Linked DNA regions of Homo sapiens: regions 1, 2, 3, 4, 5 and 6 are each linked to region 7. The links are contacts of gene promoters, found by promoter capture Hi-C in blood cells and fetal thymus (Javierre and others, 2016). All regions are on one chromosome and are shown on one strand. The core of a region is centred on a gene start or on the middle of the fragment in contact, and the rest is flanking DNA. Distances in the headings are between cores, read along the strand shown.

Region 1 (3,204 bases), core at 300-2,799, 750 kb after region 7:
TGTATAAAATTTCTTAATTTTAGATAATGGGAAAGCATACCATTTCTTTTCTATTTTAAAATTAAAATATTACGCCTTGAAATAGATCTGAATTCCATGGATGAAACTGTTTTAATTCAGGGGTGAATTCATTTATGTAGTTAAGTCGCTTTTCCCCTAATTTTTAATCAGAATTAAGAGTATGAACGAGAAAATGTTCCTATGGCAGTACCTTTGATTAAACCGAATTGCTGATGTTCATGTATACAAAGAAATGACATCTGAGAAACCAATCTTTTTCATAATATTAAATTCACAGAGTATCTTAAGTGCAGAACTACACAAAAGAAATGAAATCTCAACTTACCTCTACAATAAACGCTTTCCTCTCAGATTCACTTTCTATTTGTTTAATAGCAACATCTTTTGCTCTCCACTTAGCTTTGCAAACAACTCCAAAGGCTCCTCTTCCAACAACCTGAGTTAAACAAACAAACAAAAAACAAACAAAAAACACCACAAGAATCGGAATCAAATAGATCAGCCCAATATAAAAAACTAAAGTCAATCTTTAAGACTTTAAATTAAAAAAAAAAAAAACATGGAAATCAACAGTATCTGGATTTGCCACTGAACAAGTATGAATTTTTGTTAAAGTGAGAAGATAATTAAATGCATGCTTGTCTCTATCTTTGAAAGTTTATGATCTGTACACCCTTTCATTCTCAAGTAAAACCAAAAAAGACACATGGAGGAACAAAGTAAAGTGATTTGTTAAATGGAGAAAAAAAAACTAAAACAGACAAGATGAATGAGAAGACAGAAGATGATATGGAAAAACAAAAAGCAGGAACATATAATAAATATTTTCAGCTATCATATTTAAGAAATTAAAAATAGCCTTTGAATAATTCAACAGGGATAGGGAATGGAGGAGAAACGATATAAATATAGATGTTAAAAGACCGGCTATGAAGGACAGACAAAATATAGTATTATTTATTCCATGGAATTTTATTCCGCAAGAAAAACTATTGATATATGTTACTTACGATATGAACTCCAAAAACATTATGCTAAGTCAAAGAAGTCAGACACCAGAGACCACATATTGTATGATTCCATTTATACAAAATGTTCAGAAAAGGCAAATCTATAGATAGATACCTGGGTCCGAGGGTGAAAATTAGAATTAACAGTAAATGAGTAGCTGGTATCCTGACAAAGTGATGAAATTATTAAAAAAAAAAAACCAAAAACCTAATTTATGGTGGTGGCTGACAACCTGGTAAATTTGCAAAACCCACCAAATTGTACACTTCAAATGGGTGAATTTTATGATGTGTAAAATAGATCTCATTACAGTTATTTTTCAAAAGTCATAAAAATAAAGATCAGACATGTATCATACTATTGTTGAAGCCAACTGATGAATACTGCATGGGTTCATTGCTCTCTCATGGAGTCCTATTTTTACAAATATTTGACATTTTTCATAATATAAAAAAAGAAAACAAAAATAGCTTTTGATACTTGTTAGAATAAAATCATTAGATTTTATCATTGTGAAAGGACCTTAGTTAAGCACCACCTACTCCAATCTCTCAGCTTCCAATGAACCTAAGCACTTTGTATCAAGGCCTTTTTCTTTAGCAAAAAATCTGCATCTCTTAACCATATTTATATGTACTTTCTATGCAGCAGGCACTTAACTAATGCTTTATATACATTACCTCATTTACACAGGCCTAGAGGAAGGTACTAATGCTGTCCTCATTTTACAGTTGAAGTGCCTAGCTTTAAAGAAGTAAAACTTGCCCAAGGCTATATAGCTAGCAAGTGTTAAAGTGCAGTCTGATGCCAGGTAGTCTAACACGGGAATGTTACCAGTCCTAATTTGTAACATATATAAAGCCCCATGTCGGGAAGTAGAAGTTAGTATCTTCCCTTGGAGGAACTTTTACTTTAGACTTACATGAACAAATTCCTGGCACAAAACTCTTCTATAACAAAGTTGACTATAACTAGGTTGATCAAATGAGTTATTATCTAACTGAGGGCACTTTGGAGATCAAAAAAAGGGCATTAATAATAATAATATTAGGACACTAGTTGTAAACTGCGATGTGTATGACCACTCTAGCCATAGCTTAAATTCCACTTCATGTATCAATAAGGCAGAATGAACATTTACCATGTTGTTCAATGTCTAAAGCTACTCAAATGGTTAACATTTATTGAATGTTTACTATGTGCCAGGTACTATTCTATGTGCTTCTCATACATTAACACATTTAATCCTCTTCCATTTAAAAGGGAGGCAAATGGAGTCACATGGTTGTAACTTGCCCAAGATTGGATGGTCAGAAAATATTCAGAGAAGCCAGAATTTGAAGCCTAGAGCACCTAATGATGAACATACTCTATATTCAGCTTCTGTTCATCAGTGGCTTAAAGGAAATGGGGCTGCCTCTAGGCAAAATTTCAAAGTAGGCCAACTTCTCTGGTAGCTAGTCTTTGTTTTGTTGACTTCCCATTTCACTCGTCCTAGCCCTGGGCACTCAGTGTTCTGTGGTTTAGGTTCTTGTTCTCCTTCACAATTCTCATCAGACATTTGTACTTGCCATTCAGTTACTTTATTGTGAATAGAGGGTACTGGCTACCTGGTACCATTAGAATAAATGAAAGAGCACACCCAGGCTCTGAAATCCAACAGACTTGAGTTTGAATGTAGGGCTCTGTCTACCTATTATCTCTTAATGGTGGACAAGTTTGAGTTTCTGTTTTCTCAGCAGTAAAATAGAAGTGCTGACATTTTCCTTCATGAATATCTACAGGATTCGTAAGTTAAAACCAGGTATTTCCTCAAATACTACAAAGAACAGTAAGTGCTTGGAATTGGGTATGAATCAGTGTAAAGGGCTGTAGTACTCATTTCTTTTCTTTCTTTTTTCTTTTGGGTAGAGATGGGATCCCACTATGTTGCCCAGGTTGGTCCTGAATCCCTGAACTCAAGTAATCGCCCTGCCTCAGCCTCCCAAAGTGCTGGGATTACAGGTGTGAGCCACTGCACCTGACCTGTAGTACTCACTTCTCTTGCAATTAACTAAGATGAATAGCAAGCAGGTCCTAAAAAAATTTCAACTTTGTGGCAACATTAGTTTAAGAACACAGGCATGGAGACCAGACTTTACCTATTGATATTACTATTAAATACGAAATGAT
Region 2 (3,137 bases), core at 121-2,620, 860 kb before region 7:
AAAGATCTCTAAAAGGAAAACTACAAAACACTACTGAAATAAATCACAGATGACACAAACAAATGGAAACACATCCCATGCTCATAGATGGGTATAATCAATACTATGAAAATGATCATACTGCCAAAAGCAATCTTTAGATTCAATGCAATTCCCATCAAAGTACCATCATCATTCTTCACAGAACCAGAAAAAGCAATCCTAAAATTCATTGAACCAAAAAAGAGCCCAAATAGCCAAGGTAAGCAAACAAAAAAGAACAAATGTAAAGGCATCACATTACCCAACTTCAAATTATACTACAAGACTATAGTAACCAAAACAGCATAGTACTGGTATAAAAATAGGCACACAGACCCATGGAACAGAATAGAGAACCCAGAAAGAAAGCCAAACACTTACAGCCAACTGATCTTTGACAAAGCAAACAAAAGCATAAAGTGGGGAAAGGACACCCTATTCAACAAATGGTCCTGGGATAACTAACAAGCTACGCGTAGAAGAATGAAACTCATCTCTCACCTTATACAAAGTCAACTGGAGATGGATCAACTCAAACTTAAGTAAGATCTGAAACCATAAAAATTCTAGAAGATAACATTGGAAAAAACTCTTCTAGACATTGACTTAGGCAGAGTTCGTGACCAAGAACCCAAAAGCAAATGCAACAAAAACAAAAATAAATAGATGGAACCTAATTAAACTAAAAAGCTTCTGCACAGCAAAAGAAATAATCAGCAGAGTAAACAGACAACCCACAGAGTGGGAGAAAATCTTCGCAAACTATGCATCTGACAAAGAACTAATATCCAGAATCTACAAGGAACTGAAACAAATGAGCAAGAAAAAAACAAATAATCCCATCAAAAAGTGGACAAAGGACATGAACAGACAAAAGAAGATATACAGTTGGCCAAGAAGCATATGAAAAATGTTCAACATCACTATCAAGGAAATGCAAATTAAAACTACAATGAGATACCACCTTACTCCTGCAAGAATGGCCATAATTAAAATATCAAAAAATATTAGATGTTGGCATGAATGTGGGGAAAAGGTAACACTTTTACACTGCTGGTGGGAATGTAAATTATTACAACCACTAGGGAAAACAGTATGGTGATTCCTTGAAGAACTAGAAGAACTACCATTTGATCCAGCAATCCCACTACTGGGTATCTACCCAGAAGAAAATAAGTCATTATCTGAAAAAGCCACTTGCACAGGCATGTTTACAGCAGCACAATTTGCAATTGCAAAAATGTGGAACCAGCTTAAATGCCCAAGAACCAATGAGTGGATAAAGAAAATGTGATATGTATATATACCATGGAATACTACTCAGCCATAAAAAGGAATGAAATAATGGCATTCATGGCAACCTAGATGGAGTTGGACCCCATCATTCTAAGTGAAGTAACTCAGGAATGGAAACCCAAATATCCTGTGTTCTCACTTGTAAGTGGGAGCTAAGCTATGAGAATGCAAAGACATAACAATGATATAATGGACTTTGGGTACTCAGGGGGAAGTGTGGAGAGGGGGGATGAGGGATAAAAGACTACTACAGTGTACACTCCTTGAGTGACAGGTGCACCAAAATCTCAGAAATCATCACTGAAGTACTTATCCATGTAACCAAAAACCACCTGTCCCCCAAAAACTACTGAAATAACATAAAAATGTTTTTTAAAAAGATCTTTACTAAAGATCTCTATTTGAGCAATCAGGATCTTAATATCTCCTCCAACCTGCTTCTCTCTCAGTAAGCCCTAATAATATCAACTATCTCATGTGCATAAGCCAGACATTTGAGACTAAATTTTGACCCTCTTTCCCTCATTCTAAATACGACATCAAGTTCTGTCCATTTTCCCTTCTTAATATCTCTCAAATTAGCCTTCTACTCTTCATCTGTCACTTTTAAACTATCACTATTGTCTTTCACCTGGACTACAACAAGTTCCTAATTAGTCTCTCCATTTCCACTCTTTTCTCCATCAATTCATTAAACACAGAAAAGTCAAAGTAAGCTTTTAACTTGGATTCAAATAATCTCATCTCGATGCTGAAAAAAAAAACTGCAATTGTATGCCACTGAAAATTTAAAGCATATAAATATTAGGATACCTTATCACACCCTACTTGCCTGTATGATCAGGCTATTCTCCAACCTCTTAACCTCACTTACATCTTCCAGAACAAAGACACTTTTTCAGTCTATTATCTCTCCCATCATCATCCTATCCTAACAGAAACTTTCAATAACACCCCCTGCCAACTATTTATCTAGAAAACTTCTATTTACTGAAGATAATTCATGTATGACCTTCTCTGGGAAGTCTCACCTGATCTCCTTCTTCCTTCCCATCTCTTCTTCCTCAACCTCAAAGAATTAGGTTTATTACCTCTGATTCCCATCATATACCACAATAGAGTCATTGCTACATTTTTTACAACAGAACTGTGCTTAAAATGGATGGTTTGCTACTCCCATGAGACTCTGCTTTTTAAGGGTAATATATCTTAGCCATCTCCCTAGCACCCAGGACTAGCACAAAGTAGACATTTAAATATTTGCTAAATAAAATGACTTCAAAATCACCATCACTATCACCATCACACTATCCTGAGTACCTGGGACCACAAGTATGTGCCAATGCACCTGGCTGTGTCTCATATTTACATTCCCACAGTTCCTAGTAAGCTCTTTACATAGCAGATATGAAATAATTTTATGTTGAATGATATATCTTTAAGAAACTAGGGAGGGCTGGGTGCGGTAGCTCACACCTGTAATGCCAACACTTTGGGAGGCCAAGGCAGGCGGATCACCCGAGGTCAGCAGTTGGAGACCAGCCTGGCCAACATGGTGAAACCCCATCTCTACTAAAAATACAAAAAAGAAAAGAAAAGAAAAGAAAAAAAGGAAAAAGGAAAAGAAATTATAAGTTTGTTTTCTTCCAAGTATTCACCTGAAATCTATTAACTCAGAAGGAGGAAAAAACAGTTCTTCAGAAAATAAAGCTTGGCCCTGTCTCCAAGAGCTCTCTCTCATTGCAAGTCTGGTTTCATCAGAGAAAGTGACTTCACAGAGAAACAAATTATATGTAGTTAGTACCATTTTCTTTCTGATT
Region 3 (2,970 bases), core at 268-2,767, 740 kb before region 7:
TTTACTAGAAATTAAAAGTTCTGCAGGGCCAGGGGCATTGGCTTATGCCAGCGCTTTGGGAGGCACTGGTGGGAGAACTGCTTGAGGCCAGAAGCTCAAGACCAGCCTGGGCAACAAGCAAGACCCTGTCTCTATAAAAAATTTAAAAATTAGCTAGGTGTGGTGGTACTTGCCTGTAGTCCCAGCTACTCAGGAACCTGAGGTGGTAGGGTTCCTTGAGCCCAGGAGTTTGATACAGTGAGCTACGATCGTGCCACTGCACTCCAGCCTGGTCAACAGAGCAAGACCCTATCTCCATAAACTAAATAAAGAAATACATTCTGCAAATGGCAAGGATTTTTAAAAGCTTGATCAATGTATACAATGAGAGCAAGGCTCAGGTAAGGAAGGCATAATGGAGACTGTTACCCAGCTAAGATGCAATTGGTTAAACATCAGCTGGTCTAAATGACATGCTTTTTCTATTTTTTTTTTTTTTTTTTTTTTTTGAAACAGGGTCTCACTCTGTCACCCAGGCTAGACTGCAGTGGCGCAATTATGGCTCCCTGCAGCCTTGACCTCCTGGGCTCAAGCCATCCTTCCACCTCAAGTCTCCTGAGTAGCTGGGATGACAGGTGGGCAACACCACATCCAGCTAATTTTTGTGGGTTTTGCCATTTTGCCCAGGCTGGTCTCAAATTCTTGAGCTCAAGTGATCCTCCCACCTCGGCCTCCCAAAGTTTTGGGATTACAGGCGTGAGCCACTGCACCCGGCCATGACACGCTTTTTCTTTTGGTTTTATATCTAGGCTGAAATAGAATCAAATGTCCATCATTATTATTGTACCCTAAGGTTGCCACTAGTCCTTTTGACACCTTCATACCAATAAGAAAAAGCCACCTTAGTCCATTCTGGCTGCTAAAACAAAATATCATAAACTGGGTAGATAACAAACAACAGAGATTTATTTCTCACACTTCCAGAGACCGGGATGTTCAAGATCAGGGTGCCAGCTGGTCAGGTTCTGGTGAGGTCCCTCTTCTGGGTTGCAGACTGCAGACTTCTTGCTGTGTCCTCAGTGGTATAAGGAGGAGGGGCCTCTGTGGCCTCTAATCATATGCATGAGGGCTCCAACCTGATGACCTAATCACTCCCCAAAGACCCCACGTCCTAACATTATCACACTGGTTATTAGGTTTCAACATAGGAATCTGGGGAAGACACAAACGTTCAAATCATAGCGATGCCCAGATGGCCCCAGCCCTTGGGAAGATGTCTTCAAGAGCAGAGTCAAAGCTCTGTTTCAGCTCTCCCTTGACTCTTTGGCCAGGTACCCTCATGCAAATTATAACCTGTACAAACCTGTAACCCCAGAGAGATATAAGTATAGGGATAATGGAGACATTAATTTCAATCTATGGTAACAATACTTTATAAGCACTCCAAGTGTCATAAATTTGTCATTATTGTGAAAATTTGTGCATATTTTGCTTTTTAACACAAATTTTAGATTTTTATTTAAACTCTTCAGAGTACATTATAAAATAAGTTTTGTAATCAATGCTGAAATGTTAGGAAAATTTTTACTTGCTAAACAAAAACATTTTGATTTCCTGGTTGTTTTATGTTTAGAAGACTATTATTTTATAAATTTGAAAGATTAATAATTTGAGCATTAAGCAAAACAGAAGGCCGGGTGCAGTGGCTCACGCCTATAATCCCAACACTTTGGGAAGCTGAGGCGGGCGAGTCACCTGAGGTCAGGAGTTTGAGACCAGCCTGGCCAACATGGTGAAACCCCATCTCTACTAAAAATACAAAAATTGGCCAGGCATGGTGGCATGCACCTGTAATCCCAGCTACTCAGGAGGCTGGGGCAGGAGAATCACTTGAACCTGGGAGGTGGAGGTTGCAGTGAGCCGAGCTGAGATCACACTACTACACTTCAGCCTGGGCAACAGAGTGAGACACCGTCTAAAAAAAAAAAAAAAGCAAAATAGAAGTTTGATTAAGTGTTCCTCTTTTCACACAGGTGTCCCTCACACCTTAGACATTACAGATCTAAGCAATAGGCTGGGTGAGGTGGCTCATGCCTGTAATCCCAGCACTTTGGGAGGCCAAAGTGGTTGGATCACTTGAACTCAGGAGTTCGAGACCAGCTTGGGCAACATGGCAAAACCCTGTCTCTATCAAACACGCACACACACAAATTAGCAGACATGGTGGCATGCGCCAGCTAGGGAGGATGAGGTGTGAGAATCTCCTGAACGCCAGAGGTGGAGGCTGCAGTGAGTTGTTATCGCACCACTGCACTCCAGCCTGGGTGACAGAGTGAAGCCCTGTCTCAAAAAAGAAAAAGAAAAAAAAATCTAAGTAATAATAGGTAGAAAAAATGGTAATAAAGTCTATATAAAGAGGAAAAAAGACATTCAGGGTAGGAGGAAAGAAAATGACATTTCATACAGAGAGAGGGAGAGAAAGAGGACAGAGGTAAAATACACGAGAGACAAAGGTAGATAGAAGAGAGAGAAGTGGAATTTGGAGTTCTGCTTAGTGTCAATGCGGGTAAGCTGCTTATTTCATAAATGGGCATTACCTCTTTTTTCTGCTATTTAATACCTAGTTTACTTTCCAATCTTTTATTTTTCTTCTAACCTCCTCTAAAGATTAGCTTAACAAAAATAAAATCAAGATGTACACTGGAGCAAAAAGCTTCAAGAACTCTGAGAATTCTCCTAAAATTTCCTTTACCCTTGGAATATCTTGTTACCTCCAAGTTTGGCCTTTTGGGCCCAAGCAAAAGGATCTGATTTTTTTTTTTTTTTTTTTTTTCCCTGAGATGAAGTCTTGCTCTGTCGCCCAGGCTAGAGTGCAGTGGCGTGATCTCGGCTCACTGCAACCTCTACCTCCCAGGTTCAAGTGATTCTTCTGCCTCAGCCTCCCAAGTAGCTGGGACTACAGGCATGCACCACCACAACTGGCTAATTTTT
Region 4 (3,101 bases), core at 270-2,769, 690 kb after region 7:
TCTTGATGCTTCCCATGGGTTGAGGTAGGGACAGGTCTCCTGACAGGGAACTCAAGATGGTGGGGAAGGTGGTTGTTAACCTTAATCTCCTTTTCCAATGTAGAACTCTGAGCTGAGGGGTGAAATTTTGGGGGGAAGGGCATTGAGGACATGGAGGTCCAATTATCTGACTACTTGGAGTCTTTTCACTTCTCCATGGTTCTGGGAACTATCTCTTTTTTATATTTGAATTCTAGAATATTGCTGGTGATAATCTCGGCACTATATGTTTGTCTTTTTTTGTGTGTGGGGGTTAGTGGGGTGGGGAGTAAAGCAAGCTTGCTTCTGTGCTGCCATTTTGGAACCAGAAGTCTTGGTGGTTCTCACATTTGTGCAACCGAATCACTTGGGGAATTGGGAAAAAAGTTTTATCCCTGGTCCTACACTGTCATCGTGAAGCAGGATTTCCCCAGAATGTGTACTTTCTCCCATCAAACTCTGGGAGCAGAATTTCTCTCATCAAATCCATGGGAATACCTTTAGAATCCCCTCCTTTCAGATCCACCCTTACCTGGAGGGATCCAGGTTGGGGCCAATAGTGGGAAGAGAAATTCCAGCTCTTGTAGGATGAAGGCAAAGGCTCTAATTGTGTCCATGGCAAAGGGCCTGGGTACCTGGCCCATTAAGCTGTCCTGTGGAGTTCTCCATGCCAATAAAACTTGGTCAGAGTGTTGTCTAAGACTTCCTCACCTCTTGGTTTTTATTTTTATTGCACAGAAAACAGTAAGAAGGGAAAGGATTTTTAAAAGGGGAAAATCACCACAATGCCAACATCTGGACATTAACCACTTTACTTTTTAATTTTCTCTCATAGTCTTTTGTAATTATTCCATTCAATTGCATTATTATTTCATTTATATTAAGGACCAAATATACTTTTGTGAATGAGCCTAGGAATCTAGCTCTCTTCCCTTTTATTAACAAGAAAATACACTCCAAGTTCTACACTAATTAAAAGTGAGAGTTTTGTAGGGCTTAAGGCTTAGAAGACCTGGGTTTGAACTGGAGTCCATAATTTACTACCTGGGCAAACTTTCAAACTCCTCTGTGCTTCAGCTTACCTCTAAAGCAAGGGTCACATTTAAGAAATGCCTGAAACATAATATACACCTAATAAATGTTAGTTTCTTTCTCTTTGTCTTTGTTGACAACTCTAAGTTTGTTAACACCTATTTTATGCTTGTAAGTTAAATTTTGTTTTCTTTTCATAATGGACTTCCTACCAAAGTTTCTCTTCTAAGGGACACTGTCTGATACTGAATATTTAAATTATTTCAAATCTAGTTTCCAGCTAAGGTGTTTCAACTTAAAACACATTTTGAAGTTTTATTTTTCCAAGCTGCATCAATTATAAATACATGAAAATCTCCAGGTATGTGTACACCATATTGATCAGAGTTTTACATTAATGAAGATGCAAGTTACTTGTGCATTCTAGTGAGAGGCCAGGTTTTCCTGCTCCCCTTTTATTGTGGAGAGTGGGGAAGGAGGAAGTGGTCAAGGCAGTGGCCTATTTTCCTTCCCAAGGTAGTGTGGCAGAGGCTATTCTTGTCTCCTATAACCTTTCAATCCTCCACCTGTAACTTAACTCTATCTGATCTCCTAAGCGAAGCATGTGGCTATCCATTATAGAGATGTTTCCCAGCCTCTCTGCAGCTAGGAGTGGCCATTTGACTATGTTCTGGTCAAAACATATGAGTGTAAATGATGTGCACCTTCACAATTCCTACCCTTTCCCTCTTCCCTTTGGCGGCAATGAAGATGTATATAATTATACTACTTTAGTTTTTTATATGAGAAAAAAAGAACTGCTAACTTGTTTCAGCCATTATTTTGGGCAGCAGCCCAACTTACATCCTAGTGAATATAGAGAGATAGTGAACATGGTCTGAGGCACTGAGGTTAAGGAATTTTCTAATATGGATAAAAAAGAAAGCACAATAGGAAGAAATGTTCAGTGTAGGCCAAGGAAATCTATACTACTTCCTCAATCCTCCTAAACATAAAACTTGGAACCATGAATGCAAAGATAGTAAAACTGAAATCTGACTACATAATTCTAAGAATGTACTAATAGTATCATGGCCCCAATGTACAGAAGTAGATCTGCTTTGTAAGCATATAATTCATCCATTTCATATGCAGCTTAGATAATATTTTCATGGTACATGCAAAAGGAACAAGAGTGGTGCCAATTTTTCTAAGTAAGATGTCTATCACATTTTAGATGGATATTTAGTTAAGGACCTTTGTAGGAAACTGATTAAAAGCCAAAATGGTTCTAGAGCATGTGATGAGGGAATACCACCATTAATTCTACAACCAAAGTTACACCCAGTTTCAGGTTTCTTCAGTCTCTAGTCTGAATTTAGTAAATGAGCCAATCGATGATTAATGTAATCATTCCAGTAATAACTAAAGAAGAGGTATCCACAAATAGAAACACGCAACAAGTCTGAAAAGTAACTGCATTTTGTAAGTTACTTTTGCTTTTCAGAATATAAATATCCAGCATTTACTCAGTAATTTCTGGTGCTTTCAAAGCAATGATCCTGCTGCTACATGGCACTGATAAGATATCATTAACCATTAAATTAAAGGAAAAGTAATGCCTTTCATGACTTGGAAATTTGAAAGTACCATGACACTCAAATACAGTTAAATAGCCATTCATTTCTCAAAAAAGCTTCATTTAAAAGTGGTCTTATGTATTTTGGAAGACTCAAGTTATGCATAACATAGAACCTACTGATTTAAAGGCTGCCTAAAGTAACAGATGGGCAGGTCATTTAAACTGACGTTCCATTTTGGTGGAAATGCACGGCAGGGGGTGTCAGAACCTCCAAGACCAGTGTCTAGTCATGGATGGAAAAGGAGCATAGAGCCTGGTGTTAAGTGTTACATGATCTGCCAATGCAAATATTATTTCTGCGTGCACCACCATATCAGGAAGGACCACTGACAGCATCTGTATGAGATAGTGTCAAACATTTTTACAAAGACTATCTTCACTGTTACTGAAAATATTGTTTTGCCAATTGTTCTGTGGCATAACAACCAAC
Region 5 (3,269 bases), core at 3-2,502, 670 kb after region 7:
ATGGGCAATTTCCAGAACTGAGGGTTCCTCTCATTTTTAGACGATATAAGGTAACTTCTTGACATTGCCCTGGCATTTGTAAATGGTCATGGTGCTGGTGGGAGTGCCTTTTAGCATGCAAATGCATTATAATTAATGTATAATGAGCAGTGAGGAGGACCAGAGGTCATTTTCATCACCATCTTGGTTTTGGCAGGTTTTGGCTGGCTTCTTTGCTGCATGCTGTTTTATTAACAAGGTCTTTGTGACTTGTATCTTGTGCTGACCTCCTATCTCATCCTATGACTAAAAATGCCTAACCTCCTGAGAATGCAGCCCAGTGGGTCTCAGCCTTATTTTACCCAGATCCTATTCAAGAGGAAGTCACTCTGGTTCCAAGGCCTCTGGCAGTGACACAATGTAACTTGTGAGGCTAGTGTTCAATACAGTTTATAGGAGCTCACTATTTTGGACTGAGCTCCTGTAGACTCAACAGACCAAACCAAAACAGCATCATTCGTGCCAAAGTTTCATATCACCACACCAATATTTGTCTGACCTCCCCAGGAATCAGGAAAGAGAGAGAAATAATAGCCAAATTCTGAAACAGATCACTTTTGGCCAGCAGGATAAGAAAATCCACTCTGCTTTACAAGGAAAGTAGCTTTGAAATGACCAATCTGCTTTTTGTTCCTTGTTTCCGCCTTCTGTGGCCTTTTTCTCTCTGTAAATACTCACTGCCCATGTTGCAGAGTGGAGTTCTTGGAACCTTTTCTTGTTCTGAGGGTTACTCAATTCTCAAGTCATTCTTTGCTCTAATATACTCTGTTAAATTTATTTTGGGTAAAGTTTTTCTTCTATCATTAGATTGTAAAAATTCTATATACTTCTGCTTGGCACCTTGGGATGTGGCCCTTTGATGTGGCTGCCATATTATGAGGAAGTGCAAAGCAGCTGCCCACATGGAGGGTCCACAGGTAGGTGTTCCGATGGACCGCCCAGGTGAGGACCCAGAATCAAGTGCTGGACACATAAGTGAAGAAATCTCCAGATGATTCCAGCTCCCAGCTGTTGAGTCTTTGAGTCTTTCCAGAGGGGGCCTCAGATGCCATGGAGCAGACACGGCTGTCCCTTCTGTACCAAAGTCAAATTGCTGCTGCATGGAATCCCTCATTCTAAGCATCATTAACTGGCTGTTTTGTACCATTAAGGATTGTGGTTTGTTTCACAGAAGTATATGTATATTATAACTCTCTTTTAGTAAGAGCAAGCAAGCAAAGCAAAAACAAAACCCAACACTCCTGAACATCTGCATATATATTTTTTAATGTAAAAAAGTTATGTTAAAATATACATAAGGTTTAACTTTTTAACCCCTTTTAAGTACACAGATTTAGAGCATTAAGTATGTTCACACTGTTACACAACCATTACCACAGTCTGTCTCTGGAATTTTTTCCAACTTCCCAAACTGCAACTCTATACTCATGAAACAATAACTGTCTAATCCCCTTCCCAGAACTCTTGGTGAGCACCATTTAACTTTCTGTTTCTATAAATTTGACTACTCTAGAAACCTCTTGTAAGTGGAGTCATATGGTGTTTGTCCTCTTGTGACTGGCTTATTTCACTTAGCCTAATATAGGTTCATCCCTGTTGAAGCATGTGTCAGAACTTCCTTCATTTTTAAAGCTGAATAATATTCCACTGTATGTATATACAAACTCCTGGGCTCAAGTGATCCTTCCCCTCAACCTCCCAACATGCAGGGATTATAGGCGTGAGCCCATGCACCCGGCCCCATTTTCTTTATATCTATTCGTCCATCAATGGACACTTGGTTTGCTTCCACCTTTCGGCTACTGTGAATAATGCTGCTATAAATATGGGTATATAAATGGGGTTTGAAGTCTCTTTAGTTCTTTTGGTTATATATCCAGAAGTACAGTTGCTGGATTACATGGTAATTCCGTTTTTAATTTTTTGAAGAACTGTCATACTGTTTCCTATTGTAGTTGCCCCATTTTATATTCCCACCAGCAGTGCCACAAGGCTTCCAATTTCTTCTCGTCATCACCAATAGTTGTTATAATTTTTTTTTTATAAAAGCCATCCTAAAGTATGTGAAGTGATATCTTGGTGTGAGAGCTCATTTTGATTCACATTTTCCTAATAACTAGTGATGTTGATCATGTTCTCATGTGTTTATTGGCCATTTGTATATCTTCTTTGGATAAATGCTTATTCAAGCCCTTTGCCCATTTTTAAATTAAGTTGTTTGGTTTTTGTTTGGAAATATTCCTTTAAATGTATATATAGACAAGGCAGAGGTATAGAAACAACAGGCTGTTACCTCAGAGGTTGTGTGTTGAGGTGGAAGAGGAGCAAACATGATTCCTTTCTGCCTCTTGTGAAATTGTACTGAAGGGCTCCACGTATTACCAGCATGTGTCACTAACTGAATAAAGAAAAACAATTTAAAGAAATTATCAGTAAAAAGTCACCTTGCTTAAGTATCTCAAAATATCTAACTTGAAGTTTTTTTTAATGGTACAGCCAAGAAAATGAAATAATCTTGAGTTGAACCTTCACACAGATTTCATTGGTAAAATTTTAATAATGAGAAGAAAACTTCCCTTCATTGTTCTAGTCACAGATCCTTGGCCTGCCTTTTCCACCTCCTCCCTCCTCCCTTCTGGAAAGAGCTCAGACTAAGAGAAGAGCCTGTCTCTCTTTAAAGAGACTATTTGTTTCCATGGTAACTTGCCTTCTTCATCTTCAGAGCTGTAAACTAGGAAATTCCATTAGAGGCTTATCCGGGCAGTTGCTTTTGAAATGGTGTCTGATATTAGCTGTCTGCTTCATTCACCTTTGCTGCTTAGTAATCTTTTGAATTTGGTGATTTTGTTTCTATCAAATGAAGAGAGTAAAATAAAACAACACGAAGCTGATTATAATCGGTCTTGTTGGGCCAGCTGTGCATTCTTGTTAGGTCCTGTGGTGGGGCTGTCATGGTGTGGCCTCCTAGGTGACTGTGACCTGTGCAGCCTAGGCGCCATGGAGCCCTGCACACAGAGCTGGCCTGATTCAAGATGCACCATTTCATCTGGAGAAGAAATAGGAACCAACTCTGTTGTCAAAAGTGACTTTGATTGTTAGTAGATTTCAAGTTTTATCTGTAGGATTCTGATTTGGGCACATGGAGATGCTAATACTGCTGGCTGTGAAAATATAGCTGCAAATAAAGCAAATAACCAGATTACCTGAGGCTGATGATTTTAATTTTTCTA
Region 6 (3,016 bases), core at 66-2,565, 710 kb after region 7:
CCTGACCTCGTGATCCGCCCGCCTCGGCCTCCCAAAGTGCTGGGATTACAGGCGTGAGCCACCGCGCCCGGCCTCATAAGGACTTTTTAAAAAGCACCTTTTTTTTCTTGATGTGTTACTGAGTACCAAAGAAGAGACTTAAAAAAGAACATGGAGTTATAGAAAATAAAACTTAAAATAAATTCATGAAGAATCTTATATCTAGCTTCAACATATATACAAACACTCAAATTCAAGACTGCAACAAGTAAAATGAAATGCAATACAAAAGTACCTTTGAGTAGAATCCATCGTATGTGAGTTCTAATTATGCTGTAATGTCTGCTTCAGATCACTTCAACCTCTCTTTATCTGGAGAGGGGTTGGGGCTGGGTTAAGAATGTGATGAGAAGTGTTCCATATAGTGCTAAAATTATATGATTTTAGGTCTTGAAAAGCCACAATGGATTCAGGATAATAAACAGTGACAGGTACTTTGTTTTCCTCTCATTTCTGTTTTTTTAAAAATAATTTTTAATTTTTGTGTGTACATAGTAGGTACATATTTATGGGGCACATGAGATGTTTTGACACAGGCATGCAATGCATAATAATCACATCATGAAAAATGGGGTACCCATTCCCTCAAGCATTTATCCTTTGTGTTACAAACAATCTAATTATACTTTTAGTGAAAGGTACTTTCCTAACAATTTCAGAGAAAAAAATCATAAATTAACTTTGAAGAAAAACTGATGAAATATGACTTTCATTTTGGGTACCCACTGAAATTGCTTCAGAAATTCCAAAAAGCTTTTCTACACCATAACCAATTTTTAACTCCATATAAGATTGCTCATTCTGTTCTTTTCTTCTCCTTGTTAATCCTTCCCCACCCTGTAAGGCCCAGCTCAGGTTTTCTTCTACATTATGTGGTGATTCTTGCCACTTCTCTGGTTGTTTGTGTACAAGGCCAGACCTTGTGTTTGAGGACATGGAGTGCCTAACAGTGTACTGCAGGCAAAATGTTCGTTTACTGATTGTTACTGAATCAATTCTGAAATTCTCACTCTGGCATTCATGACTCTCCATCAGCAGGTTTACCTTGCCCATCTGGATTTTCTCTCCTCTTAAAATTCCTCATGCCCCTGTTTCCCTTGCAGTTTTTAATCCTGACCTCATATTCACCTAAAGATAATACGGCGTAGTGCACAGGGCATGCATAAAACTGAACCAGATAAAACTGGTGTTTTTGTAGTTGAAAACTCAGCAACTTCACATGTTTCAGTCTAATACTTTGGAGACCTGGGGTTATGTCTCCATTCTGCCACTTACAGCTGTGTGAACCTGTGTAAGTAACTTAGCCTCTCTGAGACTTAGGTTTCTCATTGATGAAGTGTGAATGAGAAAAAGTAGTAGCAGTAAGAAGTTGGGTGTTGGAGACAAGACAGCCCAGAGTTTGACTGTGCTCTGCCATTTCTAACTAGTACAGCTTTGGGTAACTTATTTAACCTCTAAGACTCAATAGGAAAATAAGGACAGTATTATCTATCTATAAGGTTATAAAAATTAAATGAAATGATGTACATGAAATGTCTTCACACGAGATTTTTTTCTTCTTTGAATTTTGGCTGTATAGTCAGTTCCTACTTCAACTTGTGCCCGAAATTATAGTAGTCTCAAAGTTTTACTCCTCTTCAAAAGTATTATAACCTCTTAAGGGCAGAGACCATGCGTACTTTTTATATTGTACTTCCCAGGATCTGGGAAATTGCTGAATATATAATAAACACATAATAGATACTCATTGAATAAAATGAGAACACAAGCTATTAGCACTCAGATACAAGATTGGTGCTTAAGCTTATTTACCTTTAGTATATAAGAATAACAACGACATACACCAAAGAAAACCAGTGATGAAATGTTTCACTCTTACTTTTAGGATACTTTTACCCTTGACAAAGCAAGTATAGACATTATGAAATTATTCCTGAGTCTTTTTAACTTTCTTTGACTGAAAGCAAGTACACAAATATGCCCATAGTTATAACTGCTATTATAAATCAAAGGCATTTTTCCTTCAAAGTGGTGGCAGACCAGGGTTTCAGAGTCAGTGTAATGCTAATGCACATTTTAAAAAGAGAAACACATGTTTGTGACATGTAAGAATCAGTATCAGTTGTGAGAAATCAACAAAATACAGTAGAAGTAATAATTAGGTTTTTAAAATGAGAATGGATTTAGTATATTTAAAAAAGAGGTCACTGAACATCTGCAATATTAAAACAAATAAGTTGGACCTAATAGGAATTTTATAGTACTCCTTAAGCTTAAATCTTTTGCAAAATGATTCTTTGCTACACCTTTCTTTTCACCTTCTACTTTCCAAGAAACTCTTAGCACCTTCTGTGCATGCTTGTTTGTCCCACTTGTAATTTCCAACAGCTATGAAACTAAGAAATATAAGGCTTGCACTTTTAATGCAAGTTTCAAAACTGTTTTTAGACCAGCACAGTTAGATTTAAATCCATTAACTAATAAATAAATCTTTATATTTTAAGAAATGTGTATCTCAATAAATAAAAATATGCTAATATGTTTGTATAAAAAAACTAAGGAAATATTTAAAAACAAGGCATAACTGTAGTTTTTGAGTATGTGAATAATACAAGGCATAAATAAGAGGAACACATAACATCTGACAATCAATGAAAAAACTCAAACTAGTTTGTGGCTGAATTTATGTTACTGCTTGTAACCAACTACTGAAGAAGTTTTTACAGTACTTATTTTTTAAAATCACTGGTAAAATTCTGAGGGTCACAAATGCTCTCAAACTATTAAAACTCATTTAAGTTGCTCCTTCCTCTAAGACATTTAAAATTACTTATTCTATCCCCACATTAATTGCAAAGTTTAAGAGATATAGGCAAACTTGACTTACCAAAAGAACTGGATATGAAAGTCACAAGAGTATAGAAACGTGACACAGCAATTTAAGGCAGCAAAAGAATACTAAGCCAAATTTAAACCT
Region 7 (3,179 bases), core at 598-3,097:
TAAAGGTCTCCAGATTTGTCCCTGGGAGCAAAATTGGCCCCACTCCCCAGAACAATTGGGCTTGAGATACATCAAAAAAAATACTTCAGGGCAGGGCGCTGTGGCTCATGCCTGTAATCCCAGCACTTTAGGAGGCCAAGGCGGGTGGATCACCTGAGATCAGGGGTTTGAGACCAGCCTGACCCACACAGTGAAACCCTGTCTCTACTAAAAATACAAAATATTAGCCAGGCATGGTGGCGCACGCCTGTAATCCCAGTTACTCGGGAGGTTGAGACAGAAGAATCGCTTGAACTCGAGAGGCGGAGGTTGCAGTGAGCTGAGAGGGTGGGCCATTGCACTCCAGTCTGGACGACAGAGCGTGCCTCCGTCTCAAAAAAAAAAAAAAAAAAAAAAAAAAATTTAGGCCGGACACGGTGGCTCACTCCTACAATCCCTGCACTTTGGGAGGCCAAGGCGGGATGATCACTTGAGCCCAGGGGTTCCAGACCAGTCGGGGCAACAAAGGGGGACCTTACAACTACAAAAAAAAAATTTTTTTTTTAATTAGCCACACCTGGGACCCAAGTACCTGGGACCACACTCACCTGTCCCGTGGCTCACGCCTGTAATCCCAGCACTTTGGGAGGCTGAGGCGGGTGGATCACGAGGTCAAGAGATCGAGACCATCCTGGCCAACATGGTGAAACCCCGTCTCTACTAAAAATACAAAAAGTAGCTAGGCATGGTGGCGCTCGCCTGTAATCCCAGCTACTGAGAGGGTGAGGCAGGAGAATCGCCTGAACCCGGGAGGCGGAGGGTGCAGTAAGCCGAGATCGCGCCACTGCACTCCAGCCTGGCGACACAGCGAGACTCCGTCTCAAAAAAAAAAAAAAAGTGTCTTCAACTCAGATAGAAGGAGTCAATGAGAAGGTTCTTAAAAGCCCGAAGACCTATTTCCCAGAAAACTCTAATTAACCTTATAATTTGTATAGTTAGTTACAGTGAGTATGAGCTGTCTTGCTCTGTACTTCAGCTGTTGTAAGTGTTTACGAACTGTCTCCAAAAACAGATGCAAATTTCCCTCATGGCAGAGATCGTAACGAATTTATCTATCCACTTTCTCACAGCGCCACACCGTTCCTTACGCACAGCAGGAATGCAATCAGTATTTGTCGATGGTTCCCCAAACTAACAGGAGTGGCTGCACTACGCACACTTAGGTGATACGTACACTTGTCAAAACGGCAGAAACGCAACCTCAATTTCAGAAAAACAAACCACATTCCTTTGGGAAGGCCACCTCTGCCACAAGCAGCCAAAGCGCTTGCATAGGGGTGAGAGGCGATGGGAAGGGTACTGGAAGGCTCCCCCAGATAAAAACAAAAGACTCCTTCCAATCGCCTCAAACACGCTCGGAAACCTCCACGACCTGCGCCAGCCCACAGGAGGGGGCCAGCTTGACCTGAGGCTGCACCACTCCCCACTTAAAGCGGCGAGTATCGGCGGGGGAGCGCAGGAAGCTTACTAGTGGGGCGACCCAGTCGTTCCGGCGCTTTCCCTCTCCCTTCACGTCTTACCTGCTTGGCCAAGAACCTGCCCAACTCACTGCGGCTCTTCTCGTTCTTGGCTGCGATTAACCGCAGCGGCGCGGCTGCCACCTCCAGCAAGAAGTGCTCCATGACCCAGGGCCCTCACCCCGAGCGGCCACCTGCGCTCCCTACTTCGCGGCCAGCGTCCCCAAGCCGCCGAGGTCCCAGTGCCCGAGCAGCCAGCAACTACGCCCGCAGGAAAGGCGTCCTCAGCTCCAGCGCCTACACCGGGAGAGGGGCACCACACGTGGGTGAGCACACGGCGTTTGACGTCATCAGCTCGGGACGGCTACGCTGCGCCCTCCCGGCCTCAGCCCCTCAGCGGCGGAAACGCCAGTCTTCGCTGTCCCGCCTTTTCCGGGAGGGAAATGGAAACAAAAATCTAGTCGGTTTGGATGCAGGAGTGATGGGGACTCGCGAACACAGCACGTGGTGGGACAGAAAGAAGAGTGCGTTAGGCCGGGGAGGAAAGAGGGGGCGTGTGAGTCTCAGCCCACCGTGCCTTGCTTCTGCCTTAACACACGGAAAGATCAGATGTGAGAGAAAAGCTGATTCTCGGCCGGGCGCGGTGGCGCATGTCTTTATCCCAGCATTTTGGGAGGCCGAGGAGGGCAGATCACTTGAGGTTAGCAGTTCGAGACCAGCCTGGGCAACATGGTGAAACCCCCTTCTCTACTAAAAATACAAAAATTAGCCGGGCGTGGTGGCGCGCGCCTGTAGTCCCAGCTACTCGGGAGGCTGAGGCAGGAGAATCGCTTGAACCCGGGAGACGGAGGTTACAGTAAGCCGAGATCGTGCAGCTGCACTCCAGCCGCGCGACACAGCAGACTTTTACTGTCTCAAAAAAAGAAAGAAAAGCTGATTCTCCCCTTCTTGTTAGCGGTGGCAGTTACCCCCTGTATAGGTAGGGGTCAGCAGTAACCTTAGTTCTTGCCTCCTCAGAAGAAATAATTCCACGAAGGGCATAAGGCAGGATAGACCTAGACAAGTTTCAGAATAGAAGTAAAAGTTTATCAAAAAGCTTTAGAACGGGACGGAAAGAAAAGGAGGAAAGTACAACTTGGAAGACTGCCAAGCAGGCGACTTGAGAAACCAAGTGCGCAGCTTGACCTGTTGACTTGAAGTTTTATATGTTGGCATACTTTGGGGAACTTGCATTGCTTCTCCCCACTCCTGAGATCTTACTGGGAAGCTACTGATCAGTTTCAGGTGTTTTCTATTAGGAGACTGCCTTTCGCTGGCCCCGGTGAACGTTAGAGAAACAGTTAAGAACCGCCTGACCATCGTTTGATTGTCACCCAATAGTCCTGGTATGTGTGGGGTGGGGAGCGCTCTCCTGTTCTGCTCATACCTAACTAGTTAACATTCTGCCCCAGCAATTCCCCTTGTAGGACTCTAGCCTGCGGAAATCCTCACTAAGTGTGACAAAGACACCCCTTGCAGTTTTCTTAATACAGATATTGGAAGAAAATGTTCAATTGGGAATATTAAACTATGGGGTGTAAGTTATAGCATATTCTGGAAGTCATAAAAAATAGTAGAGTCCATAACATTAAAAGTGCACTTGTGGGCTGGGCGCAGTGGCTCAAGGCAAGGCAGGCAGATCAC

The links. Contacts are between HindIII fragments. The CHiCAGO score rates a contact against its expected background, and 5 or more counts as called.
Region 1: a contact is called between a fragment that was not itself captured here and the fragment with the promoter of MDN1 in region 7, in 1 of 17 cell types (fetal thymus). The highest score is 5.3, in fetal thymus.
Region 2: a fragment that was not itself captured here is called in contact with the fragment with the promoter of MDN1 in region 7 in 1 of 17 cell types (fetal thymus); the score reaches 7.1 in fetal thymus.
Region 3: a fragment that was not itself captured here is called in contact with the fragment with the promoter of MDN1 in region 7 in 1 of 17 cell types (fetal thymus); the score reaches 5.5 in fetal thymus.
Region 4: a fragment that was not itself captured here is called in contact with the fragment with the promoter of MDN1 in region 7 in 2 of 17 cell types (naive CD4 T cells and total CD4 T cells); the score reaches 5.3 in naive CD4 T cells.
Region 5: a fragment that was not itself captured here is called in contact with the fragment with the promoter of MDN1 in region 7 in 10 of 17 cell types (naive CD4 T cells, total CD8 T cells, total CD4 T cells and 7 more); the score reaches 12.3 in naive CD4 T cells.
Region 6: a fragment that was not itself captured here is called in contact with the fragment with the promoter of MDN1 in region 7 in 2 of 17 cell types (activated CD4 T cells and monocytes); the score reaches 6.6 in activated CD4 T cells.

Annotation. Positions count from the first base shown.
Region 1 is chr6:90,571,351-90,574,554 of GRCh38, forward strand. It overlaps MAP3K7 (mitogen-activated protein kinase kinase kinase 7), which reads right to left. Exons shown (of 17, transcript NM_145331.3): 2 at 347-457. Among named protein-coding and RNA genes, the nearest start is that of MAP3K7, 14 kb to the right of the region's middle. The HindIII fragment of the contact is 5,120 bases long and covers 1-3,204 here.
Region 2 is chr6:88,957,681-88,960,817 of GRCh38, forward strand. The region is part of intron 1 of RNGTT (RNA guanylyltransferase and 5'-phosphatase); the gene reads right to left. Among named protein-coding and RNA genes, the nearest start is that of RNGTT, 4.4 kb to the right of the region's middle. The HindIII fragment of the contact is 1,322 bases long and covers 710-2,031 here.
Region 3 is chr6:89,074,193-89,077,162 of GRCh38, forward strand. No RefSeq gene overlaps it. Among named protein-coding and RNA genes, the nearest start is that of PNRC1-DT, 4.9 kb to the right of the region's middle. The HindIII fragment of the contact is 2,346 bases long and covers 345-2,690 here.
Region 4 is chr6:90,509,071-90,512,171 of GRCh38, forward strand. No RefSeq gene overlaps it. Among named protein-coding and RNA genes, the nearest start is that of MAP3K7, 76 kb to the right of the region's middle. The HindIII fragment of the contact is 2,408 bases long and covers 316-2,723 here.
Region 5 is chr6:90,487,507-90,490,775 of GRCh38, forward strand. No RefSeq gene overlaps it. Among named protein-coding and RNA genes, the nearest start is that of MAP3K7, 98 kb to the right of the region's middle. The HindIII fragment of the contact is 8,086 bases long and covers 1-3,269 here.
Region 6 is chr6:90,528,105-90,531,120 of GRCh38, forward strand. The region is part of intron 13 of MAP3K7 (mitogen-activated protein kinase kinase kinase 7); the gene reads right to left. Among named protein-coding and RNA genes, the nearest start is that of MAP3K7, 57 kb to the right of the region's middle. The HindIII fragment of the contact is 1,050 bases long and covers 791-1,840 here.
Region 7 is chr6:89,817,947-89,821,125 of GRCh38, forward strand. MDN1 (midasin AAA ATPase 1) reads right to left here and starts at 1,848. Exons shown (of 102, transcript NM_014611.3): 1 at 1,560-1,848. The coding sequence starts at 1,661. RefSeq lists enhancers at 1-305, 306-925, 1,502-1,891, 1,546-2,165, 2,166-2,785. The HindIII fragment of the contact is 1,090 bases long and covers 1,501-2,590 here.